Linked DNA regions of Homo sapiens: region 2 is linked to region 1. The links are contacts of gene promoters, found by promoter capture Hi-C in human tissues and cell types (Jung and others, 2019). All regions are on one chromosome and are shown on one strand. Each heading gives the region's core, a stretch centred on a gene start or on the middle of the fragment in contact. The rest is flanking DNA. Distances are from core to core; before and after follow the strand shown. Region 1 holds the start of FLT3 (fms related receptor tyrosine kinase 3). Region 2 overlaps PAN3 (poly(A) specific ribonuclease subunit PAN3).

Region 1 (5,893 bases), core at 974-3,473:
AAGGGAAATTGGGATCCCATGTTCTAATTCAAAGAATTTAAGGCTATTAACCATTTTAAAGTTCTCATGTTTAAGCTTCTCACTTTATCCTTCTTTATTCAAGAAAATCCATAATACAAAGTATTGGCAAAGATGTGAGGAACTGGAACTGCCATACACTGCTAGTGGGAGTGGAAATTGGTGTAACCACTGTGGAAAACCGTTTGACGGTATCTACCAAACCTGAACATATCCCTTCCCTATGATCCAGGAATTCTACTTGTGGGCATAATCCTTTATACTGGTGTTTATGTCCACCATATATAAAACAATGTTCACAGCAGTGCTATGCATAATTACACAAAATTGGAACAACTTCCATGTGCTTCGTGAACATAATGGATAAAATAAATTATAAGATCTATTCATACCACGGAATGGTACCAGCAATTAAAAAAAAAAACACTGCTACAGAGAACAAGGTTGAATCTTATTATTATAATGTTGAGTAAAAGAAGGTGGACATAAAAGAGCACACGATGATGGTTTGGTTTACATGAAGTTCAAACATAGGCAAAAGCAATCCATGGCATCAGAAGTCAGAATAGTGGCTACCTGGGGAGGGGGTACTGACAGAGAGGGTGGAGCTAGAATTGCTCTATATCTCAGTCTGATCGTGGTTATTTGGGCACGTACATATGTGAAAACTAATGAAATTGTACTCTTAAGATGTGTGCATATTTACTGTGTGCCAATTATACTTCATTTAGAAATATCTGGAGAGAGAGACATAGAAATTTCTGAATTCTTTCCTAAATAGAAAAGAATTCCATGCAGCTTAAATATCGTTGCAAGTATTGATGCTTATACCTTTAGAAAGCCCATTATGCTTCTGAAAAATGCACTTACTACTTAATATCATACATAATAGAAAGCTAACATTTTGTATTAACGGAATCTGGAAAACATATTGTACTACACATTTGAAATTACAGATTTACTAACTAGTAAAGATAACTATTTAAGAACTAAAATGTCTTTGTTTTTCAACTCTTTTCCCCCGATTTCCATTTTTTACTTTTTATATTTCAGAATTATTTGTAACAAAAGCTATTGGATATAATTCCTGCACTTCTATATTGCAAGCATTTTCTCTATTTACCACAGAGACTTCAAGTCCTAGCATTTCAGAGCTGAAGGGGACTCGGACGGACTCCCTCACTGCACAGATGAGGACGCGGAGGCCGGGGGAGGTGAGTGTCAGTCCCAAGGTTGCAGACCTAGGACAGGGACCGGAGCTGCCGGGCACCCAGAACTCTGTCGCCTTCAACCCAAATTCGATTCAGTCCTCTCATCTTTCCAAATAGAAAGCTGACGCGAACCGATGGGAAGATTTTTTTTTTCAATAACAACTATGCTACCCAGCAGATTCTTTGGGGACAGTCCTCGGAGTCCTTGAAAACCCCTTTGGGGTTTATGCCAGGATAAGAAGAGACTAGAAGAAAGGGACAGCTAGTATTTTAATATGTAAATCTGTTTGCATAATATTTCCTAGGTAAACTATTCGTTGATCCAACCAAAATTCGGCGGGGCTGGGGGGTATCGTTATTGAGGATGACTCGCTCTAGGGGAGAACGCGGACGCATTTTCCCATCAGAGTTCCCTCCATAAATCAAAACCTCAAAAGAAGAGTTAAAGACGACACCCAGGTGTCTACAGTATCCAAGGGCCGGGCCAGGAGAGGTCCTTGGCCACCTGGCGCCGAGTTCGCGGCCGCAGACTCCCACGGACGGCCCAGCACCCGAGCGCGCGGGCCGAGCTGCCCCAGACCCGGCGCAGCGCCTCGGCGAGGCCGTCTGCGAAGTCCGGGCCGCCACTCGGGACCGCGGCCCGAGCCAGAGGAGAGACTTCGGAGAAGAGGGAAGAGGACGCGGGGTGGGAAACGCCGGGGCCGCAGGCAAGTAGTGGGCGAGTCCGGAGGGCGCGAAAGAGGGGAGGGGCGCGGGAGGCAATGGAAGGAGCGAGCGCGGGGAGGAGCGAGGCGGCTGGGCCGGAGGAGGCGCGCGCCCGGGTCCACACTGCGGGGTGGGGGCTGAGGGACCGCGAGGGGCTGCGAGCGAGCGAGCGGGGCCTTACCGAGCAGCGGCAGCTGGCCGCCGTCGCGCGCCAACGCCGGCATGGCCTCCGGAGCCCGGGGTCCCCAGGCCGCGCCGGCCCAGCCCTGCGATGCCGCCTGGAGCGGCGCGCCTCGCGCTGCAGGTGGCTCTCTTAAGGATGCGCGTCACCGACCGCAAATTCCCTCGGACTGGTGCAAAGTGGAAGGGGGGAGGAACCCTCTCCCCAGAGGCAGGGACCGAGGCGGGAGCGGAGAGGTTGGGCAGAGCCGAGCAGCCGGTGCCTGGCGCAGCGCTGCAGCCGAGCCCACGTGCCCGCCGCGGTCCGCAGCCTGTGCTCGGCGGCCCCCGGGGCTCCCCGACTGCGGCGGGGAAGATTGGGCGCGGTCCCGCCGGAGAAGTTGCACTGGCTCCGCGGCTCTGCCGCCTTGCTGCCCCTGTGAGTCCCCGAACTCTGTCGTTTGGATCCGGGGCGTGGGGACTGCAGGGAGCCACAAACCACCCTCCTAGTGCGCTGGGATCTTTGAGGCCCTGAGAAAGGCGCTGAATCCGCTCGGCACGCTGGCAACTCCCGCCAGCGCACAGGCGAGCATTCCATTAAGAACCATTCCATTCTTAATTGTGGACTGATTTCCTTTGTCTCTGCCTCCATCTCCTAGGATGCTCAGGACCCAGTCAGCGGCGGGATCAAGAAAAACAGGCAGGGTTTCAATGTCAACCAAGGCAATTAGGGAGGTTAACAAACAGCCTTCAAAACAAAACACACAGAAAATACATCCCAGAGGATGTTGCGAATCATCCGCTCAATAGTTCTTGTTCTTCATCGCATAATTTTTCGAGTTGAAAATTATTATTATTTTCTTTGCAATAAGTTGAGGATTGGAAAGCTCTGGATGCCAGTTCTGGTTCTTCCCTTACTTAACTAGCCGTTTGACCTCCACAAACCTCTGTTTACTCATCGTAAAGGAAAGGGATGGACCAAATGGTTCATAATGTCTCTCCCAATTCTAGGAATTCCACGCTCTTAATTATTTTAATTATTTTCTAATAAAGCATGAAAATTGACTGTTTACTCTTGGCCATACAGTTCTTTTCCTTAGATGTTGTCTACAGTACAATAATTCTTTCCCCTAGGGTATGGCAGAAACTTTAGAAGTGTCTACCATGGTGCAGCCACTATGGAAAACACTATAGAGGTTTCTCAAAAAATTAAAAAAAATACGGTCCAACAATTCCATTTCTGGCCATGTAGCCAAAAGAATTGAAAGCAGGGTCTTGAAGAGATGTCTGTACACCCGTGTTGAAAGCAGCATTATTCACAGTAGTCAAAAGGCAGAAGTAACCCATGTCCACAACAGATGAATGATAAACAAAAATGCAGTATATACATACGACTGAGTATTTTTCAGCTTTAAAGAGGAGGGAAATTCTGATACAGCTAAAATATGGATGAATCTTGACATTATGCTAAGTGAAATAAGCTAGTCCCAAAAAATACAATACTGTATCCCATTACAAATTCATAAAGACAGAAAGTTAAATGGTGGTTACCATGGGCTGGGGGCAGGGGGAAATGGGGAGCCAGTGTTTAATGGATACAGAGTTTCAGTTTTGCAAGATGAGCAGAGTTCTGGAGACTGGTTGCACAACAATGTGAATGTACTTAACGCTACTAAACTGTACACTTAAAAATGGCTAAGGCTGGGTGCGGTGGCTCATGCCTGTAATCCTAGCACTTTGGGAGGCCGAGGTGGGCAGATCACCTGAGGTCAGCAGTTCGAGACCAGCCTAGCCAACATGGTGAAACCCCATCTCTACAAAAATGCAACAATTAGCCAGGCGTAGTGGCGCATGCCTGTAATCCCAGCTACCTGGGAGGTTGAGGCAGGAGAATCACTGGAACCCGGGAGGCAGAGGCTGCAGTGAGCTGAGATCACACCACTGCACTCCAGCCTGGGTGACAGAGTGAGACTCTGTCTCAAAAACAAAAACAAAAACAAAAAGTTAAGATGGTAAATTTTATGTATGTGTATTTTACCTCAATTTTAAATTTTTTAAGTTTTTGTGTAGCTGCTGGGGGTTTAAAAATTTTTTTAAAGAGTGTTGTGTCTACCTTAGGTCAGAAACAGAAGTGAAGGAAGATGGCCTGAAATAAGTGAAACATGAGGAGATAAAGCAATGAAACAGGCTGGTTATGGGGAGAAAAGCGAGCTTCCAATGGCCAAGACCTAACACACTACCTTCTATTTAAAGCTCAATTACTGTCTTAAAGGAAACTGATTGGCTGGGCGCTGTGGCTCATGCCTGCAATCCCAGCGCTTTGGGAGGCCAAAGCGGGTGGATCATTTGAGGTCAGGAGTTGGAGACCAGCCTGACCAACATGGTGAAACCCCATCTCTAACAAAAATACAAAAATTAGCTGGGCATGGTGGCACTGTAGTCGTAGCTACTTGGGAGGCTGAGGCAGGGGAATTGCTTGAACCCAGGAAGCAGATGTTGCAGTGAACTGAGATCATGCCACTGCACTCCAGCCTGGGCAACAGAGCAAGACTTGGTCTTCGCCGGGCGTAGTGGCTCATGCCTGTAATCCCAGCACTTTGGGAAGCTAAGGCAGGTGGATCACGAGGTCAGGAGTTCAAGACCAGCCTGGCAAAGATGGTGAAACCTGTCTCTACTAAAAATACAAAAAATTAGCCAGGCGTGGTGGCATACGCCTGTAATCCCAGCTACTCAGGAGGCTGAGGCAGAGAATTGCTTAAACTTGGGGAGCGGAGGTTGCAGTGAGCCAAGATCGCGCCACTACACTCCAGCCTGGGCGACAGAGGGAGATTCCGTCTCAAAAAAATAAATAAATAAAATGAAAAACTAAAAAAAAAATGAAACTGATTATTACAAATTTGCAGAACATCAGCTTGAGTGCAGCAGTATTCAGGATACAAAATCATAAAGATACTGCTGCTTTGTCCAAGAATCTTGGACACAAGGCAGAGATCTTCATGAAAAAGGGGGTTGGTGAGAGAGGAGAAGTTAGGAATGGTTTCTTTTTTTGAGACAGAGTCTTGCTCTGTCGCCCAGGCTAGAGTGCAGTGGCACGATCTAGGCTCACTACAACCTCCGCCTCCCGGGTTCAAGCGATTCTCCAGCCTCAGCCACCTGAGTAGCTGGGATTACAGGCACCCGCCACTGCGCCCAGCTAATTTTGTATTTTTAGTAGAGAAGGGTTTCACCATCTTGGCCAGGCTGGTCTCAAACTCCTGACCTCGTGATCCACCCTCCTTGGACTCCCAAAGTGCTGGGATTACAGGTGTGAGTCACCGCGGCCAGCCAGGAATGGTTTCTAGGAACACTTGATTTTCCGTGGAAATTGGTGGAAAAAATAATTCTAGAAGGAGCAAATCTTATAGACTGAAATATTTTGGAGTATGAGGTATAGGCTAACAGAAGGTGAAGTAATGCCCATGTTTTTCTGTGATGTGCCAAGAGTCATATCTAATATGAGAACTAATTTCTTCCTCACAGCAACACTTAAGGAAAGTAGCCTGAAATTGTCTAGAGTCCTGGATTACACGCCCAGGTATGCATGCCCAAGTATGAAATTTTGGTGTCAGAGTTCATGATAGGAATTCTGTAATAAAGAAACTCTTAAAGGGTCAAAAGCAACTAGAAGAAATGAGCTGAAACGGGAAATCGGAAAAGAGAAGAGTAAGTTTGTTTCTGGGTTGAATGGAGTGTCTAGTGCTAACTCTACGAAAGGATGTATTTTATCTAGATTCTTAGCACCATGATGCTTAGCCATGAGT
Region 2 (5,531 bases), core at 703-3,202, 190 kb after region 1:
TTAATGGGAATTGTATCACAGTTTGATCTGGGAAGCAGAACGACTTTAAATGATACAGAAAAGGGATTATCAGCCAGGCGCGGCCCTAGATAAATTCATCTTCGTTTTATATCATATTCCTTTTAGGAGCATTATGTAAATATGCAGTTACAGCTTTCTTTGATTATTTGAATAACGTCTGTTTCCTACTAGACTGTAAGTTCCTAAGGTCACTGAAAACTCACAGTGGTCATCTGGTTCTTCACAGCTTGTTTTCACATGGAATGGTAGGAAACCGATATTTACTTCCTTTTTGTTTCCTAAACATTTTTCTATTTTATGCTTATTGGTGAAGTAGAAGATGTACCTGACCTTTCTCTATTCTGTAACCTACAGAGTGGGAGGAAGAGAAGAGAAGATATTTAAAGATATTTTTACCTTTTCCATTTTATCTAATGGTAGGGGCTGAAATAAGGAGGTAATGTAAAATAGGAATGCATAAGGGATGATTTCCCCCTGACATTTGCTAACTGAAAACTGGAATTCATAGACTTACTAGTTCAGTTAGATTATTTTTTAAAAACACTGTACCAGACTCCCTCCCAATTTTTTGTTTATTGGGAAAAAGTAAAACTAGTTTGGAGTCTAAAAAATAGACATATGGCCACAGACCATACAGCATGAGTTACTGAGGTAAAATGTTCATTTCCCCCAGGTTTCAGAAGGATCCCACTTGGTCAGAGACTGGAGACCGTTATCTGTTGAAACTCTTTAGGGATCATCTTTTTCATCAGGTGACAGAAGCAGGTGCTCCCTGGATTGACCTCAGTCATATAATTTCTTGTCTTAACAAGGTAATTTGTATCTAGATTTTTTAAGATCATAATTCTGCCTATAATTTGTATAGAGTTGTATCTTCTACAAATACTAGGAAACTTAAGAAATCAGGATGTACTCTTAAAGTAGCCTGTAAGACGTTTTATTAATAACATTTTCTACAATGGGAGGATTTTTACAATACTTGCATGAATAATTTTTTGGGGCAGTGGAGGACAGAGTCTTGCTCTGTTGCCCAGGCTGGAGTGCAGTGGCCTGATTTTGGCTCACTGCAACCTCTGCCTCCCGGGTTCAAGTGATTCTCCTGCCTGAGCCTCCCGAGTAGCTAGGATTACAGGCACCCATCACCATGCGCAGCTAATCTTTAGTAGCGACAAGGTTTCACCATGTTGGCCAGGCTGGTCTCGAACTCCTCACTTCAAGTGATTCGCCTGCCTCAGCCTCCCAAAGTGGTAGGATTATAGGCGTGAGCCACTGCGCCTGGCCTTCATGAATAATTTTAGAATGTTTTATTGTGGATCTTTTTATTATGATAAAGTATCACAAAATGACTGCTTCCCTCCTTTATGCAATGTTTTATTTACATGTGGTTTTGTTATGCCGCTTAAAACAGTGAATGGTAAAAAGCAAAAAAATAATTTTGTGTTTATTTTTTAAAAATTGAACCCCTTCCGAATCATTGTGAGTTATGTTGGGTGTTATCAAATCATTATTAACTATAGATTTTTTTTTTTTTTTTTTTTGAGACGGAGTCTCTGTCACCCAGGCTGGAGTGCAGTGGCGCCATCTAGGCTCACTGCAAGCTCCGCCTCCCGGGTTCACGCCATTCTCCTGCCTCAGCCTCCCAAGTAGCTGGGACTACAGGCACCCACCACCATGCCCGGCTAATTTTTTGTATTTTTAGTAGAGACAGGATTTCACCATGTTAGCCAGGATGGTCTCGATCTCCTGACCTCGTGATCCACCCGCCTCAGCCTCCCAAAGTGCTGGGATTACAGGCATGAGCCACCGCACCCGGCCTAACTCTAGGTTTTATAATCAAGTAGTAAATAATAAAAGCACAATACTAGTGACATCAGTTACTAGCAGGTCCAGCTGTTATAAATGGTGAATTTGATGATTAGATGAATTAAGTAGATAAAAAATAGATCATAAATTTATTTGAGAGGTGAGGTGAGCTTTTTTTTGGAACGGGGTTTTGATCTGTCACCCAGGCTATAGTGCAGTCGCACTTATGGCTCACTGCAGCCTTGACTCCCCAGGGCTGCAGTGGTCCTCCTTCCCACCTCAGTCTCCTGAATAGCTGGGACCACAGGCACACGCCACCACACCCAGCTAATTTTTGTCCTTTTGGTCGATACGGGATTTCACCATGTTGCTCAGGCTGGTCCCAAACTCCTGAGATTAAGCAGTCCACCCACCCCCAAAGTGTTGGGATAATAGCCGTGAGCCACCACGCCCAGCAGCATTATGTTTTAGAAAAGGTTGGGAAAAGGCTAGGCGCAGTAGCTCGCGCCTGTAATCCCAGCACTTTGGGAGGCCACGGCGGGCGGATCACGAGGTCAGGAGATCGAGACCATCCTGGCTAACACGGTGAAACCCCGTCCCTACTAAAAAATTAAAAAAGTTAGCCGGGCATGGTGACAGGCACCAGTAGTCCCAGCTACTCGGGAGGCTGAGACAGGAGAATGGCGTGAACCCGGGAGGCGGAGTTTGCAGTGAGCCGAGATTGGGCCACTGCACTCCAGTCTGGCCGATAGAGCGAGACTCCGTCTCAAAAAAAAAAGAAAGAAAAGATTGGGAAAGACAAAATTTACAGAGAAAAGAAAGAAGACAGTTCCCTTATGAATTACTTGGCATTATGAAGTTTAGAACTGGTCTCCAGGAGTAAATGTAGTCTCTGTATAGGTTTATGTATAAACCAGGAGCTGGTAAGCCATGGCCTGCAGGCCAAATCCGTTCTATGGCCTATTTTTTTAAAGCGTGAGAGCCTCGAATAGTTTTACATTTTTAAAGAGTTGTAAAATAAACAATAAGCCAAACCTAAAACATTTACCGTCTGACCCTTTATAGAAAACATTTACTGACTCTTGGTCTAAACTTTCCTAAATTATAAGTACTAGAGGAAAAAATATCTACTGTAGCACATGATTTAGAACTATTAATGTACAGTGTGGTAACCTTTCAGGGAAAATGTTACGGTTTGTTTTTAAGCACTACTTTGCCTTCCTTTAACTTCCTTAAAACTCTATAAGGAGTATTGTCAATAACCTACATTAAGACTGCACAAAACTGGCCAGGCTCGGTGTCTCACGCCTGTAATCCCAGCACTTTGGGAGGCCCAGGTGCACGGATCACCTGAGGTCGGGAGTTTGAGACCAGCCTGGCCAATGTGGAGAAACCCCATCTCTACTAAAAATACAAAATTAGCCGGGCGTGGTGGTACATGCCTGTAATCCCAGCTACTTCGGAGGCTGAGGCAGGAGAATCATTTGAACCCCAGGAGGCAGAGGTTGCAGTGAGCCGAGATTGTGCCATTGTACTCCAGCCTGGGCAACAAGAGCAAAACTCTGTATCAAAAAAAGAAAAAAGACTGCACAAGACTATATGTATCATTGAACTAATTCAGTATGAGTTATATATTTATTTTCCCTTTATTTATGTTAGGGGAAAAACCTTTTCTTGAGAGCAATATGTAGAAAATAATTCTGTCAGATTTTAGAGCATAGTATCAGAGTACCAGTAGTTAAAAATACGTAGAACCAGAACAAACATTGACAAGTAGGTAATATGGAATAAGCCATGGACAGTTGCCTTAAGCAAAGATCATTTAATGAATATTAGGATAATATTAAATTCATCAAAGATCATTTAATGAATATTAGGATAATTGAAAATTTGAAGAAAATTCTGTTTCACATCATGAACTAGCTAGTAGTAAATAATACCCCAAATCTGAAGTGTGACAATATTCTAAGTTTGAAAAGAGTGTGATAAATTAAAAGGGAAGGATGGCCAGATTGATTATACAAAATTAAGATTTTATATAAGCTTATTTTGGTAGAAATAATGACAGAAATTGTCTGGTAAATGATTTGAATGTTTGAGCCTTCAGTGAGTTGTAAACATATTTTAATGAATTATGTATCAATTAATGAAATAAAGTACATTGAAAATAACAAAAATAAAGTGAAAACCATAACAAGACAAGTTGATAGACTAAGGATCAGTATTTATGCTTTACAAAGACCTCACTAAAATATTACTGCCAAATTCCATTAGGGTCATGAGTAAAGATCATATACTAGCATTTACACAAGCAGAAATACCAAAAGTAAATGTATGAAAAAACTTTGATAATAGTAGTTAAAATCTAAATTTAAATAGCAAGGTGCTCATTTGCTGTGGGGTTGCTGGAAAAGTATTAAAATCTTATAAATTAGGCTGGGCACGGTGGCTCACACCTGTAATCCCAGTACTTTGGGAGGCCGAGGCGGGTGGATCGCCTGAGGTCAGGAGTTCGAGACCAGCCTGGCCAACATGGCGAAACCCCGTCTCTACTTAAAATACAAAATATTAGCTGGGCGTGGTGGCAGGTGCCTATAATCCCAGCTACTCGGGAGGTTGAGGCAGGAGAATTGCTTGAACCCGGGAGGCAGAGGTTGCAGTGAGCCAAGATTGCGCCATTGCACTCCACCCTGGGCAACGAGCGAAACTCCATCCCCAAAAATTAAATAAATAAAAATAAAAACTTATAAATTCATGGTGTCTGATTGGAAAACAATTTGGTTCTATGTACTAAGCTATAAAACCACTTCTACTTTACTTTTTTGTGTTTTTTTAAAATTTTTTAAAAACCAATTTCTTAATACTTTACATTTTATTATTAATATTTATACTTCTAAGTATTTTTCCTAAGGAAAAAGTACTTCCCACAGAAGAAAAAAATTAAGTAGATGAGTATGTTCATTGCACTGTAATTTATTATGCCAAAAATGGAAGATACTGGGAGAAAAATTATGGAGCATCAACTGGGTAAACTATAATACAAACAAACGTTAAGCGTGAAGGGATAGAAACATAGGGCAGTGTTTGTGTAAAAATGTCTGAGTCGAAAATTATGTGCATACTGATGAATGATATAAATGTACTCATGGATATCTGAAAGGGAATGTGACAAAAAAAATTTAGATATTTTATTTATTTTTGCTGCAAACGTAGATAAATTCTTTTCTGCATGTTATGAATTTCATATTTTGTGTATATATTGTTTCAGCTAGATGCTGGTGTGCCAGAAAAAATAAGCCTGATTTCCAGAGATGAGAAGAGTGTACTTGTGGTGACCTACAGTGACTTAAAGCGCTGCTTTGAAAATACTTTTCAAGAACTGATTGCAGCTGCAAATGGTCAGTTGTAGTATTTGCTAAAAAAGCACGCAGGACATGGCTAAAGACCTTAACCAATAGCAAATTGCACTACAGCTGAACTTTTCATCATCTCATTCACATTTGGGAAACGAACAGGAGATGAGCAAAGCTGCTTGCACTTCAGTCAGGTACACTGTTACTTGAAAGGAAGAATGTTTCACTTACCCAAGAGCTATGGCTGCCATTGGAGGCTGTTATCTGTGAAGAATTTATTTTAGATTTAGGAGCACCATCAGGTGAATGATGTTCCTGCTTTTGTTTTTTCCACTTGTATATGCACTAATTTTA

Evidence for each region. Contacts are between HindIII fragments. The study calls those that stand out against the background at their distance.
Region 2: a contact is called between a fragment that was not itself captured here and the fragment with the promoter of FLT3 in region 1, in 3 of the 25 tissues and cell types used here (aorta, liver and mesendoderm cells).

What each region holds. Positions count from the first base shown.
Region 1 is chr13:28,098,353-28,104,245 of GRCh38, forward strand. FLT3 (fms related receptor tyrosine kinase 3) reads right to left here and starts at 2,224. Exons shown (of 24, transcript NM_004119.3): 1 at 2,116-2,224. The coding sequence starts at 2,158. RefSeq lists silencers at 2,058-2,217, 2,338-2,397 and an enhancer at 2,508-2,637. The HindIII fragment of the contact is 18,739 bases long and covers 1-5,893 here.
Region 2 is chr13:28,287,290-28,292,820 of GRCh38, forward strand. It overlaps PAN3 (poly(A) specific ribonuclease subunit PAN3), which reads left to right. Exons shown (of 19, transcript NM_175854.8): 18 at 695-833; 19 at 5,093-5,531. The coding sequence ends at 5,233. It overlaps LOC124903140 (a long non-coding RNA gene), which reads right to left and starts at 698. Exons shown (of 2, transcript XR_007063735.1): 1 at 1-698. RefSeq lists enhancers at 1,765-2,266, 2,267-2,766. The HindIII fragment of the contact is 6,716 bases long and covers 1-5,310 here.